2 separate regions of the Homo sapiens genome follow, and region 1 is linked to region 2. The links are contacts of gene promoters, found by promoter capture Hi-C in blood cells and fetal thymus (Javierre and others, 2016). All regions are on one chromosome and are shown on one strand. The core of a region is centred on a gene start or on the middle of the fragment in contact, and the rest is flanking DNA. Distances in the headings are between cores, read along the strand shown.

Evidence for each region. The method cuts DNA at HindIII sites, captures the fragments that hold promoters and counts their contacts. A CHiCAGO score of 5 or more calls a contact.
Region 1: a fragment that was not itself captured here is called in contact with the fragment with the promoter of DPY19L4 in region 2 in 1 of 17 cell types (monocytes); the score reaches 6.7 in monocytes.

The regions. Positions count from the first base shown.
Region 1 is chr8:95,228,126-95,230,825 of GRCh38, forward strand. No RefSeq gene overlaps it. Among named protein-coding and RNA genes, the nearest start is that of LINC01298, 13 kb to the left of the region's middle. RefSeq lists enhancers at 418-557, 678-797. The HindIII fragment of the contact is 3,646 bases long and covers 1-2,700 here.
Region 2 is chr8:94,718,557-94,721,256 of GRCh38, forward strand. DPY19L4 (dpy-19 like 4) reads left to right here and starts at 1,344. Exons shown (of 19, transcript NM_181787.3): 1 at 1,344-1,458. The coding sequence starts at 1,443. RefSeq lists an enhancer at 437-1,391 and a silencer at 1,152-1,471. The HindIII fragment of the contact is 11,065 bases long and covers 790-2,700 here.

The sequences.
Region 1 (2,700 bases), core at 139-2,638, 510 kb after region 2:
CAAGGCGGGAGGATCACTTGAGGTCAGGGGTTCATGACCAGCCTGGCCAACATGGTGAAATCCCGTCTCTACTAAAAAAATACAAAAACTAGCTGGGCGTGGTGGTGGGTGCCTGTAATCCCAGCTACTTGGGAGGCTGAGGCAGGAGAATTACCTGAACCCTGGAGGCAGAGGTTGCAGTAAGCCAAGATTGCACCACTGCACTCCAGCCTGGGCGGCAGAGCGAGACCCCATCTCAAAAAATGAAACAAGACAAAAAAAACCACATATGTAAACTGGGCAGCTTAAAAATAAGTCAGAAAGAGATCAGAAACCATAGAGAGGAAGTGGGAGAAAGTTCTGCCCAGAATCTAAGGTGAGGTACTAGGTAGTAAATGTAATTCTGAGCCTCTCGTCTTGCTTTTTTCACCTTCTTATATATGTGACTCTGCTGGAGTTGCATTTCTCATGGATCCTTCCAAATAAGTCAAGAAAAATTTCCCCAGGAGTCCCAAGTTTGAGTCTGGATCAGCATTTGGCAGATTTCTGAGCCTAGAGACAGAGCACAGGCTTCTCTGGCCCGTGATCTCTGCCCTGTGAAAGCCCTTGCCCTGATCTCAGCTCCCATGATGGGCATCCAGTGGCAAGGGGGCCTCTGTGAGTACATTGAGATGAGCCAGGAGGCCTGATGCTGTGCCTGAGACCGAGTCCTAAGAACAGGCCCACAGCTGATGTCCACACCTGGCCCACGTCCCCTGGCCAGCCTTCTTCCACCTGCTCTGTTAAGAAGAAACATGCACCCTGTGGCTAGAGTCCAGCTCCCCTCAGCCCTCTTTCTTCCCGAGGATGTCCTTAGTAATTGTGGCTTTAGTGATGAGCAACACTAGGAGGCCTTGGGGCGTGGGGCCTGCAGAGCAGGGAGAAGATAAGGCAGGGAGATAGGAGGCTGGAGTGTGGGCAGGGCATTGATGGCCATGCTGAGAACCTGGAACTTCGTTCATATTTTAAGCAGAGACGCAGAGACACGGCCTGGTCAGATTTGATCTTCACTTGGCTTCCAGCTACGGTGCCTGAAGACAGGCCTGAACACGCAGCCCACAGGGGAACCCGTTATGTGTGGAGCTCGGCAGTGGAACCTGGCTGGGGTTAAAGGTGGTGGGGATGAAAGGCGCAGGGCATCCAGGCTTCCCACCTCGCCTGTGTCACTTCCTCTGCTCTCTATTACTCCATCACTCCCCATTCCCTGCTCTCCGAGCTCCAGTCACAGTGAAGCTCTAAGTTCCTTGGAAGGACTCTGTTTCCTCCTGCCTCTGGGCCTTCCCATGACAGCTGGAGTCACCTTGTCCAAGAATAAACCAACAACCTTCACTTGGTGATGCCCGCTCCTTCCTCAGGGAAAACTCCCAATGCCTCATCCCAGGTCAGGCCTCCCAGGGCACCTTGCAGTTCCCCTTCTGAAACATTCACTTCACTTGTAATTACATGGGTGCGGGGGACAGCACCTATTTTTGTGGCCTGGCAGCCTCTCTCTTTATTTGGTGTGTGGCTATAGTACCCTGGTTTTATTTTGAGGTACCACACCTCCTCCACTGTCAACCTGTGTGCGTTGGGTAAAGTTGACCCGACTCCTAGGAGCCAAGAGTGGGCCATGTGACCAAGGCTAGACCAATCAGGAGAATCCATGCCCCTTGGCTTCAGTGATTGGTTCAGAAATAGGCAGGTGATCTAAATAAGCCAATCAGGGCTAAGGACACTTGGTCCCTGAATTTTGGTTTGAATTCTTGAGATCCTGACTTACTTCCATGGTCTACAGTGGTGATGTGAGGCTGAAGCTGCCTGGGCCACCATGAGTAGCCTGAGAATTGAACCAGCCCAGAGGGTGCACAGCCAGATGGCTCCTAGTGACATCATTTAAGCTCTAAATCAAGCTGTCCCTAAAGTCAAATCTATCCTTGTACATTTCAGCTACAGGAGTCAATCAATTCTCTTTTTAAATATAGACCTGCCTGAGTTGGATCTGGTGAGTCACAACTGAACAGTCTCCTCGACCTATGTTGTCTTCCTTCTGCCATGAGCACAGGGGCTGTATTTGTGTCTCCAGGACCTGGCTCAATGCCTGGTGCCTAGGAGTATTCAACAAAGGAATGAATAATAAAGAGAGGGGTCTCAGGACTTCTCCAACACCACCCCTTCACCCTTTCATACCTGGAAATGAGATGCAGATTGTGGTTCTCTCTGGGTGATGACATTGTTACAAAGTCCTGTTGGAACCAATTTTCTTCAGAGCAAGGAACTCCAACTACAAGAAAGTAGCCACTTATACGGTGTGACAAAAGGGGCCCTGGGAAAGACTTGTTGCTCAATAAAATTTACAAAGTGCCTGAAGTTCTATTGTTAGCAAGATTCCTTTGGCTTATGGTTCTGAGAACACTTAAGAATTCTCTGTAAATATGTCTGTATTTGGTTATATGAGTATAAAGAAACACTGAAACGATACACAAGAAACTAATAAAAGACAGTTACTGAGAGTTGGGATGGGAATTGCCCCGATGCAATGAGGCAGGCACAGGAATGGGAATTTTTATAGTGTTTGAATTTTGAGCCATATGCATGTATTGGCTTTTCAAAAATTAAATTAATAAAAGAACATCCTTGAGAGTACAGAACCACTAGAAGCCATTAGCAGCTCTTCCCAGCTGTGGGGGAGGACATTTATTTACT
Region 2 (2,700 bases), core at 94-2,593:
AAGACCAGCCTGGGCAACATGGTGAAACCACACCCCTCCACTTCTCTACTAAAAGTACAAAAAATTATCCGGGCGTGGTGGTGGGCACCTGTAAACCCAGCACTTCGGGGGGCCAAGGTGGGCGGATCACTTGAGGCCAGGAGTTGGAGACTAGCCTGGCCAACCAACATGGTGAAATCCCATCTCTACTAAAAATATGAAAATTAAGTGGTGGCTTGCGCCTGTAGTCCCAGCTACTGGGAAGGCCGAGGCACGAAAATCGCTTTAACCTGGGAGGCGGAGGTTGCAGTGAACCTAGATCGAGTCATTGCATTCCAGCCTGGGCGACAGAGCGAGACTCTGTCTCAAAAAAAAAAAAAAAAAGTTCCTGGAACCGTTTCTGCACATCACTGAAAAATGATAGCCTCTCCCCAAATATCCTAACTTAAAGGTGCTATTAGGAGAATCTTGCTGCCTGCTAATAATGGGGTGTCCATAATTACCCCATGACTTCAGTGAATTCTCGTGCCTGTTTCTCCCGATCTAAAATGGGTATATTTCATTTACTAAATTTACTTCTGAGTACTGTTGGGGAAAAGATCCCGGTGTTTGTTGAAGAATGCTAGATATAATGAAAGTTAAACACAGTTTAACAAATTAAAATTATTCCCTATTGCTCTGTAATATCTAATTGCACACTGCTCTACCCCAGACCATTGTATTATCTCCCCGCCCCCCCCCCCAGAATATCATGAAATGCAACATATTTGCTAAACCAGTTTTGGTGATTTAAAACAAGTTCCAAGCACAAGCTTCTTTCTTGTAATGGTCAAGTGGCCTACGAAACCAAAGCGCCAACTGAGAACGTTTTGCTGCTGCACTCTGAAATCCCAGCGAGAACGCAGGCAGCGATGGCAGTTCTGGAGCACCGGGTTCCACTTCTGCCTCTGACCGGCTTTGTGACTTCCACCACATTAGATCTGAGTTTCCTCCATGTAAAATGGGGCGGGAATGGAGGCTGGACCTGGGAGGTGTCGCTGATGATCGTCTCTGACTCGCTAAGTCGCGGAGTCACAAAAGTGGCGGAAAGCATGCCCTCACTTTTTGGGAAGAGTAGGACGAGGGGCGGGGCTGCAGCGAGACCCACCAGTCTCGCTTTCCAGGGCAGGCGGCGGCCAGGAGCTACAGCTGTGGGCTGCACTCCCGGCGTGGAGTCTCCTTCCTGCCCGCGCAGGCCCCGGCGCCCCAGCGAAACGCTCCGGCCGCTCCCCTCTCCCAACACTCTGGTTCCCGGGCCGCCTGCGGGGACGCGGTTGGCGGCGACACCGGAGGGGGGTGGGTCAGGAAGTGGGGGCGCGGCGGCCAGGAGCGGGCCCCCGGAGGCCGAGGGGTTCGGCGACGCGGAGGGAGGGAGAGTCTGGGCCGCGCGGGAGCCGCAGGGCGCCCTAGCCTTCGCAGAAACGATGGCGGAGGAAGAAGGTGATTGCCGCGGGGTCCAGCGCGCCAACGGCTGCCAGTGGTCTCGGGAAGGAGGGGCGGGGGCGCTGGAGGTCTGGGTTGGAGCTGCTGGTGGCCGCGGTCGCGGTGGCGGCCGCGCGGGCAGGGCGGGAAGGAGCGCGGCGCCCAGGAGAGGACTGCGGAGAAATTCAGGAGAGCGGAGCAAATGGCCCGAAGTTTTGTCGGCCGAATTGGGAAGCAAAGGTGGAGCTGAAAGTTGGGAATCCGTAGCAAGAGAGAAAGCTGTGCCGGGAGTGGTTGGGAAAGAGGGAGGGTCCTGATCAGATTCTTGGTGAAGTGGGAGGCGCAGTTTGGTTTCGAAGATCAGGTTTAGGTACTCAGTGCATATTTGGAATGCGATTTTTAAAGGGCTGTGGATATTGACAAACCCAGAGGCACAGGGGGCGAGGGAACATTCACCACGGGGATAAAGAGGCAGGGATTTGGGATAAACGTGGCAAGATTAATTGGGAATGGGCGAACACGCAGAAACTGAAGAAAGCCAAGTTCACTTAGGTTCAGGGGAAAATGGTAAAGAGCAGAGCCATCTAATTATTATAGTTTTGGGAGATGATGAGGCCAGGAGGCCTTTGAGGGTCAAAGTGGGTGAGCTGGAGAAAGGTTTCCATGCCGCCTTCAGGATCAATGCTAAGATAAGTAATTCATTCAGCAGTATTTTATTTATAGAAAATGATAAGTATGAGACAAAAATGGGAAGTTAGATGAAACTTATCGGTTAGTGATAAACAATACAAGGAATACTCATGGCATAGTAACTTCATGATAACCCCTACTAGTTTCAGGAAGTGAGAAGCAATTAGATTTTTGCATTCTGGTGGAAAACACAACTTTTTACCTTATGAGTGGAGCTGTGGATGTGATAGTAAATCGATCTAATTTAGACTCAAGCCCCCCTGCCTTTTTTTTTTTTGAAACGGAGTTTCGTTCTTGTTGCCCAGTCTAGAGTGCAAAGGCGCGATCTCGGTTCACCGCAACCTCCGCTTCCTGGATTCAAGCGATTCTCCTGCCTCAGCCTCCCTAGTAGCTGGGATTACAGGCATGCGCCATCACGCCCGGTTAATGTTATATTTTGAGTAGAGACGGGGTTTCTCCATGTTGGTCAGGCTGGTCTTGAACTTCTGACCTCAGGTGATCCGCCCACCTCGGCCTCCCAGAGTGCTGGGATTACAGGCGTGAGCCACGGGTCCAGCCGACTCAAGCCTT